Regions from separate parts of the Homo sapiens genome. Here all the other regions are linked to region 2. Evidence: promoter capture Hi-C in 16 types of primary human blood cells and fetal thymus (Javierre and others, 2016). All regions are on one chromosome and are shown on one strand. Each heading gives the region's core, a stretch centred on a gene start or on the middle of the fragment in contact. The rest is flanking DNA. Distances are from core to core; before and after follow the strand shown.

Region 1 (3,040 bases), core at 467-2,966, 110 kb before region 2:
TAACTATACAAATTAAAAGAACAATATTGAATTTGTGAGAGTTAAAAATATCAAAGTAGAACTGACATGTATTACAGTAATAGCATAAGAAAGGGTGATAGGATTAAATATATAACAAGTTTTGAAAATTTTTTTTTAACTTTTAAGTTCAGGGGTACATGTGCAGGTTTGTTTTATGAGTGAGCTTGTGTCATGCAGGTTTGTTGTACATTTTGTCTCCCAGGTATTAAGCCTAACACCCATCAGTTATTTTTCCTGATCTTCTCCCTCCTCCCACCCTTCACCCTCCAATAGACCCCAGTGTGTATTGTTCCCTCCTATGTGTCCATGTGCTCTCATCATTTAGCTTCCACTTATAATTGAGAAACGTGGTACTTGATTTTCTGTTCCTGCATTAGTTTGCTAAAGATAATGGCCTTCAGCTGCATCCATGTTCCTGCACAGGATATGATCTCATTCTTTTTTATGGCTGCATAGTATTCCATGGTGTATATATACCACATTTTCTTTATTCAATCTGTCATTGATGGGCATTTAGGTTGATTCTATGTCTTTGCTATTATGAATAGTGCTGCAGTGATCATACACTTGCGTTTCTTTATGATAGGATGATTTATATTCCTTTGGAGATATACCCAGTAATGTGATTGCTGGGTCGAATGGGTAGTTCTGTTTTTAGGTCTTTGAGGAATCACCACACTGCTTTCCACGGTGTTTGAACTCATTTACCCTCCCATGAACAATATATAAAAGTGTTTTTAAAAACATACTTAAGATATAGGCAAATATCTTTAAAAAGAAAAATAAATAGCAAAAGAAACTGATGAGGTATAAAACAACTGATGAAGCTATATTAGTATAATACAAAAAGACATTTGGGCAAAAAGCTTTGATTGAGATGAAGAGGATCATTACCTATTGCAAGAATATTTTATTTACTAGGAAAATATAATAATTCTAAACTTGAATGCAGTAATAACATGGATTCAAAATATAAGAAAAATCTGTAGCACCATTATTCAGTGAGACTGGAAAAATATAGCATAATAGTGGGAGCCATTAAAACATTTCTTTCAATAGTTGTTAGATCAAAAAGACAAATCAATAAACAGGTATAAGACTTGAATAATATTATTATTCATTTAATATATATATGCTTACCCAACACCCAATTTTCAACAAAATTAAGTTAGAAGTCAATTTTGGAAATATAACATGAAAAAAACCGTGTATTTGGAAATTGAAAAACATATTTTCAGATAACCCATGAGTTAAAAAAAAATATTGTCAGAAAATACCTAGAACTGAATGGTAGCAAAAACTCTTAAAACTCTAAAAAAAAGAGGTACTTGGAGGAAAATATATAGCTTTAAATGCTTACTTAAGAAAGAAGAAAGATGACAATAAGTTAGGCATATTTCTTAAAAAGTTAGAAATCTAAAGAATTTAAAAATTAAAATATTAAGAAATTAAAAGAAGGAAATCATAAAATAAGAGGCTGAAAATAAAGAAATTGAAAACAAAGGTAACAGAGAAGATTTGTCAAGTCAAAAGTCATCTCCTTGAAAGGACTAATAAAGTGACAAACTATAGACAAGATTTATGAAGGGATAAACAAAAGAAGGCACATATACACCATATTAAAAATGAAAGAAGTGGCTGGGCATGGTGGCTCACACCTGTAATCCCAGCACTTTGGGAGGCCAAGGCAGGCGGATCACTTGAGGTCAGGAGTTCGAGACCAGCCTGGCTAATGTGGTGTGAAACTCCATTTCTACTAAAAATGCAAAAATTAGCCCAGCATGGTGGCACGCACCTGTAGTCCTAGCTACTTAGGAGGCTGAGGCAGGAGAATTGCTTGAACCTGGAAGGCAGAGGTTGCAGTGAGCCGAGATTGTGCCAGTGCACTCCAGGCTGGGCAACAGGGCAAGACTGTCTCAAAAAAAAAAAAAAAAGCATTCTTTAAAGTGCCATAGCCATTAAACATAAAATAAAATAATAATACAACTTTATGCCAATAAATTTAAAAACTTAGGTAAAATGAGTAAAGTTTTTTTTGTTTTGTTTTTGTTTGTTTTGTTTTGTTTGTTTTTGTCTTTGAGACGGAGTCTCTCTCTGTCGCCCAGGCTGGAGTGCAGTGGCCTGATCTCGGCTCACTGCAAGCTCCGCCTCCCGGGTTCACACCATTCTCCCGCCTCAGCCTCCCGAGTAGCTGGGACTACAGGTGCCCGCCACCACACCCAGCTAATTTTTTTTTTTTTTTTTGTATTTTTAGTAGAGACAGAGTTTCACCGTGTTAGCCAGCGTGGTTTTGATCCGCCCACCTCGGCCTCCCAAAGTGCTGAGATTATAGGCATGAGCCACTGTGCCCGGCCAAAACGAGCAAAGTTTTAAAAAAGTATAACTTGTTTATGAAGAAATAGAAAACCAAATATCTTCAGCCATTAAAGAAATAGATTTAGTTTAAACATTTCCCACAAAAAATCCAGCAGATCCAGATAATCTTACAGATGATTTTTGACAAACATTTAAAGAACAGGTAATTCTAAGCTTAACACAAACCCTTTTAGAGAGAAGAACTTCTTAATTCTTTCATTTAAAAAGGCCAGTGAAACCAAAGTCACCATGAGAAAGAAAAACTACAGTCATTCTCACTTAAGAAGATATGTGCAAAAATCCTAAACAAGATATCAGTAAACCTGATCCAGCATTATATGAAAAAATAATTTGTTGAGCAAACAAAGGCAGATGGCTGGACAGCACACACACATATACCAGATCTCCTGGAATATTGTATACTAAAGGAAGTTAATATAATCACAAGCTATGTCCCTCATTGCCCATCACTTCCTGGGGAAGCTCAAAGGGAGGTAGTAGGGTTGAGAATAGACATAGGGAGACAGATCCCTTGGACTATAGAGCTGTTATTAATAAGATGCATTATTAGGGAAATACCAGGCCCTCCTTTGCTATGATCAAGGGCTGGAGTTCAAACTTTTATGCCTGTTATAGCAGAAACTTAGCCTTATTCCAGTTTTTC
Region 2 (3,057 bases), core at 558-3,057:
ACTGAGGCTGCAGTCAGTTTTCAGTCAGACTAGTCACAGAACAGGGACTGAGACACACGGATATGACTCTGTGTGACACCACACACTTCCAGGGGAGAACCCAGAACAAGGTGGAGCAAGCCCGACCCAATATACCACTAGAGAGAGCTGTGAGAGGGAGAGGAAGGAGAGAGGGACTGAACTAAAGGAGCACTATCAAAAAGTGGAGTGGAGACCCCAGTCCTAGCACCACCGTTTATTTCCTACAGACCCTAAAGCTCAGCCACGGACACATTCATTCATCCAACCCTGACTTGGCCACCACAAGAACGTTCCCAGCTTGAGGGCAGCTTCGCCAGCCAATTAGGGCCCTTGTCATTCGTAGAGATACAGGGAACCCGAGACAGAGGGACAGGGAAGGAAATTTAGCCAGGCAAGCCATCCTCCATCTCCAAGGAAGTTTGTAAATGATCACAGCTTCCTAACCCAACCGTGAGAATGCAATAAGCAAGCTGACGCAGAAGGGAGGACAAGGAGTCTCAGGAACCAGAGGAGACCACGGTGAGAGTGAGGGGAATGTCGCTCACATATCTCACTTCTGAGACAAGATATACCGCAACAAACCCATGCCAAGCTTCCTCCAGTTCTTCCCACTTTTGAATATCACATTTTTCTTGCTCTGCAAGAGTAGGGAATCCTTCCCATCAGTCTTGTGAATTCTGACCCCTTGCTGGCTTTCTACAACTCCCTGCCTGGGAGGCCGACACCAGGACATTGCTGTTGGGGGTGGGATCCCCATCCTCTGCCCCCCACTCCTACACTATAAGAGAATCAACTTTCCCCAAAAAGTGGAGGGTATCCCTGTCTCTCTTCTTGTCTCTGTAAAGGGGGTGAAGCTCTGGGTCGCCGCAGATGGATCTAAAGGGACAGTTCACGGAGTGGTAAAGGATATCCAAAAATTGGCCTTCTAGAGCACAGCAAAAAAGTGGGAGCGAGACGAGAGCAGAAGGCCACTGCTGGGATGGGGCCAGGGCCACACGTGAACATCCGAGCACGTTCCAGAGCTGAGATGCAAAACACCCAGAAAATCACATAGGAAGTGGAAAAGGTTCTGGGTCTCTCCCACTGGAAAAGCCCAGAAGAGCTAGTGGCCACCCCTTGGGGCAAGAGGGGGTTGTGCAATGACTGCGGGTCTGGGAGTCTCTGGGCTTGGCTCCTGGACGCCAGAAAGGGAACCCCACGCGTCAAGCCATGGTGGCAGCGCGGCGGTTGGTTCGAGGCCAGGCTGGGGTTTCAGGGCTGCAGACAGAGCTGCAGGATACGATGAGTGCCCAAGGGGGCGGCAGAGCATGGCATGGCTGGCACGGCGCGGAGCTGGGGGTGCTGTCTGGGCTGGCCGGGGTACAGGCCGGAGGGGTACAGTGCACAAAGCCGGGGTGCAGATAACGTACACGGCAGCCAGGAGCCTCCGATCAGAGGAGGGCCCGCTGACCTGCAGGGGTGTGCCGGGCGGTGCACGACAGGGGGCACTGTCCCTCCAGCTCCCTCCTCCCCAGGCTCTCACCTCGAACATAAGCCCGATGAGGACGCAGAGCACCAGGCAGAAGCCGATGTCCGCATGGTTGTGGATGACGAACTCCTGGCTGAAGAGCGGGTAACTTTTCGTCCTCCTGCGGAAAGCCATGGCAGCGGGCGCGCAGCGGCCGGCGGGGCCCGCACCCTGCGCTCACGAACCGCAGCGCAAACTTCTCCAGCACCGGCCCGGTCCGCCCGCCGGCCCGCCGCCCGCTCTCCCACAGCCGCTCGCCCGCCCAGCGCGGAACAACTTCGGGGCCCGCCCCCTTCCTCCGCCCGCCCCCGGCCGCCCGTAACCGCCCCCGGCCGCAGCCCCCGCCCAGCCCCCGCCCAGCCCGCGGCCCGCACTCGGCGCGCCTGGCCCCGCCCCCCGCGGGCTTAACCCTCTAGCCGCTGGGCACGCGCGGGCTACCGGGGCGGAGGCGTACGGGGGCGGCGAGCGGGGCTCGGCTCCTCCTCGTCCCGCGCCAGCGCCGCGCCCGGCCGCATTCTCGGGGCCCGAGGCTCAGCCGCTCGCGGTGGAGAAAGCAGGCCGCGGAGGAGGCGGGCGCCCAGGCCTGCCCGGACAGGAAGTGGGCCCAGCTTTCCCACTCCTCGCTCCGCTCCTTCCTCCGCGGGAAGGGCAGGCCCCGGAGGCAGCGAGCGCCCCGGGGGTGGCCGGGCAGCCGGATGCTCCCGGGGTTGCGGGCTGTGGCCCCGGGGGCTGAGGGCGGCGCGGGTGCGGCGGAAGCAGGGAAGCCGCGAACCGGCCTTCTGGCTGGCCACAGCGCCCTGCACGGACGATCAGTGAATGGAGATTACTCAAGTATTTATCGAGAACTTGCAGTGGGCTAGGCACAGTTCAGGTAGATCAACAAACCGAAAGACCCTGCCCTAGGGGAGCTTTCGCTCCAATGCGGGGAGAGGGTGGATGATTGCAGTTTTGCCCAGTAATTTTTGGGACCCTCATGCCACCATTAATTAGCTACACACATTTCACCGAAAGTCTACCTTACATATTAATCAGAAGAAGTGGAAGAATAAACACAGAAGAAGCAAAAAAGGAAGGAACTTTCTCACTGAAAGTTTCTATTTAATATTAAGTCTTAAAAGTACTCCTGGAAGGACAAAAGGTGTTCTTAATAAATTATATTCGCAAATATTGGATTTAATCCTACCAGTAATGAAGCAGTCAGTTACTTTCTAGATGTGCAGAAATACGTAATGAACAAAAAAAACTAATTCCTATTCCATTTTTTATTAGGTCCACAGTTATTTCACTTCTAAATAAATATGGTTTTTTAAAAGTGGCACGCGGTGGAATGTAATTGAGACAGGATGGAGTTCCTAGAGAAATTTTACTTCCTCAATCTGCACTCCACCTTACTTAAAATACAGTCTTGGGTCTGTAATTCCCTTATCTGACTCTCAAGGAAATGACAAAGTAATGCCTAGATTGGACTAAACCTCATTTAACTTCAAGGCTGACCTTTCTCAAAGTTGAACCTTCGTCTTGTGAGGAAC
Region 3 (2,928 bases), core at 309-2,808, 82 kb after region 2:
CACCCCGGTTCAAGCGATTCTCCTGCCTCAACCTCCCGAATAGCTGGGACTACAGGCTCAGGTATTTCTTTAAAGCAATGCAAGAACGGCCTAATGCAGACATAAAGAGACATTTCACCTAATAGTGGCAAATAAGCCCATGAAAATCTCATCGTTAGCCATTAGAGAAATGCAAATTAAAACCGCGATGAAGTCTCCTCATAGTGCAGCTGCCATTACCGCTGCCCTCTGCCCTCCGGCCTGTCAATCTACCTGCAGCATGAGCAGCCTGCACCTCTACAGCACATCGGTCACTGGCTCCCACAAAATCAAGTCCCAGCAGAGTGAGGTGACCTGAATCCTGGATAGGAAGCGCATCTAATACCAACTAGTGGACATCTCCCAGGACAACGCCCTGAGGGATGAGATGCGAGTCTTGGTGGGCAACTCCAAGGCTGCCCCACCCCGGATTGTCAATGGGGACCACTACCGTGGAGGCTTTGAGCTCTTCATGGAGGCTGTGGAACAAAACATGCTGCAGGAGTTCCTGAAACCGGCCTGAGTCAAGCTGGCCCACAGTTCCCCTGCTGGACTCCATCACCACACTCTACTTACAGCTCTCACCTGGCCAAGAAAGACCTTGTGACCAACTCCCTGTCATTCCTAACTTGACCTTAGAGTCCCTCTCCACAACACAAACCACTTCTCCCCCTTTCTAAATGTAGTCTCCTCTTCTCTATTCAAAGGCAACATTCCTTACCCACTAGTCTCAGAAATTGTCTTAAGCGACAGCTCCAAATGCTGGCATCTCTGTTGCTTCCATCGGCCAGAGCTTTGCCAAAGGCCCCACAATCCCTCTCCAGGAGGACCCTAAGGACAATTAAATGTGCTGTTCCATTGGAAAACACACACACACACACACACACACACACACAACAAAAGAGAAAACCATGATGCAATATCACTACACACCTAGCAGAAGGGCTAACGTATAAAATAGTGACACCACCAAATCTGGCAAGAATGTGGAGAAACTGGATCACTCATTCATTGCTAGTAGGAATATAAAATGGTACAGCTTACTCTGGAAAACAGTTTGGCAGTGTCTTAAAAAACTAAATATGTACGTGTTATATAATTCCACTCAGAGACATTTATCTCAGGGAAATAAAAATGTATCTTCACAAAAATGATCTGTATACAAATGTTTATAGCAGGTTTATTCTTAATAGCCCAAACCTGGAAACAATTCAGATGGTTAAACAAACTGTGGCATATCCATACCGTGGAATACTGGTTAGCAATAAAAAGGAATGAACTACTGATACGTGCAACGACCTGGATGAATCTCCAGAAAATTATGCTGAGTGAACAAAGCTAATCCCTAAAGGTTGCTCATGGTATGATTATATTTATATAACATTCTTGAAATGACAAAATTATAGAAATGGAGAACAGATGAGAGCTTACCAGAGGATAAAGAGAAAGTTGCAGTGGGTGGGGAAGTGGGTGTGGTTATAAAAGACCCACGGGAGGAAAGGATATTTGTGGTGATGAAAATGTTCTGTATCTTGACGGTATCAAAGTCAATGTCCTGTTTGTGATATTGTATTATTAGAATTTTGGAAGATATTAACATTGGGGGAAACACCATTGAGGGAAACTGTTTGTGTTATTTCTTACAACTGCATGTAATTCTGCAACTATCTCAATATAAAAAAATTAATTTTAAAAACACTCCCCAGCCGGGCATGGTGGCTCATGCCTGTAATCCCAGCACTTTGGGAGGCGGAGGCGGTGCGGGGAGGGGGGATCACCTGACGTCAGGAGTTTGAGACTAGCCTGGCCAACATAGTGAAACCCTGTCTCTACTAAAAATACAAAAATTAGCCCGATGTGTGGCAGGTACCCGTAATCCCAGCTACTCGGGAGGCTGAGGCAGGAGAACCGCTTGAATCCAGGAGAAGGAGGTTGCAGTGAGCCGAGATTGCGCCATTGCATTCCAGCCTAGGCGATAAGAGAAAATTGTCTCAAAACAACAACAAAACACTTCTCATACCTAGGTTGCAGCCCATAGCAATTAAATTACAATGTCGGGAGAAGGAGCCAGACATCAGTATTTTTAAAAGATGTCCAGGTGATCCAACAGGCAGCAAATTTGGGAACCACTGAATTAAGCATCTCAGAAGCCTCTGAGATGTTTAAGAAGAGAAGGAAACAAAAGTTTTCCTAAAGTTCTCTTTATAGAGATATCTTTGTAAAAAGGAACAACATAGACGCATCCTATTACATTTTGGCCACAGCCTCAGTCAGTATGAGGGAGAGGCCTTGGACATTTCTTATTCATCTGACTTCACTAATTGAAAACTTAAGCCTAAAAGCCAACATTACTAACTACTTTGCTACTGGAATAATTTACCAAAAATGTTTTATTTATTTATTTTTCGAGGTGGAGTCTCACTCTGTCGTTCAGGCTGGAGTGCAGTGGCGCAATCTCTGCTCACTGCAAGCTCTGCCTCCCAGGTTCAAGCAATTCTCCTGCCTCAGCCTCCCCAGTAGCTGGGATTACAGGTGCGTGCCACCACACCTGGCTAATTTTTTCTTTTTTTAATTTTTAGTAGAGATGGGGTTTCACCATGTTGGCCTCAATGCTGGTCTCAATCTCCTGACCTCAAATGATCCACCTGCCTCAGCCTCCCAAAGTGCTGGGATTACAGGCGTGAGCCACCGTGCCTGGCCCCAAAAATGTCTTAAAAAGCCATTTCATGAATAATGCAATTCCTTCCCCTTCATCTTCATCCCAATACAGTAGATTTATAGTTTCACTTTCTGCGGTTTTAGCCAATGGTTGTCCAAAAATATTAAATGGAAAAATTCCAGAAATAATTAATAAGTTTTAAATTGTGCACCATTCTGAGTAGCATGATAAAATCTCACACCAACTGCTCC

The links. Contacts are between HindIII fragments. The CHiCAGO score rates a contact against its expected background, and 5 or more counts as called.
Region 1: a fragment that was not itself captured here is called in contact with the fragment with the promoter of TRAM2 in region 2 in 1 of 17 cell types (megakaryocytes); the score reaches 6.3 in megakaryocytes.
Region 3: a fragment that was not itself captured here is called in contact with the fragment with the promoter of TRAM2 in region 2 in 4 of 17 cell types (megakaryocytes, endothelial precursors, M2 macrophages and 1 more); the score reaches 12.1 in megakaryocytes.

Annotation. Positions count from the first base shown.
Region 1 is chr6:52,460,947-52,463,986 of GRCh38, forward strand. The region is part of intron 5 of EFHC1 (EF-hand domain containing 1); the gene reads left to right. Among named protein-coding and RNA genes, the nearest start is that of EFHC1, 42 kb to the left of the region's middle. The HindIII fragment of the contact is 1,663 bases long and covers 886-2,548 here.
Region 2 is chr6:52,575,253-52,578,309 of GRCh38, forward strand. TRAM2 (translocation associated membrane protein 2) reads right to left here and starts at 1,808. Exons shown (of 11, transcript NM_012288.4): 1 at 1,544-1,808. The coding sequence starts at 1,663. TRAM2-AS1 (TRAM2 antisense RNA 1) reads left to right here and starts at 1,950. Exons shown (of 3, transcript NR_103446.1): 1 at 1,950-3,057. RefSeq lists a silencer at 1,521-2,380. The HindIII fragment of the contact is 3,868 bases long and covers 612-3,057 here.
Region 3 is chr6:52,657,114-52,660,041 of GRCh38, forward strand. It overlaps the pseudogene LOC724104. Among named protein-coding and RNA genes, the nearest start is that of TMEM14A, 13 kb to the right of the region's middle. The HindIII fragment of the contact is 7,617 bases long and covers 1-2,928 here.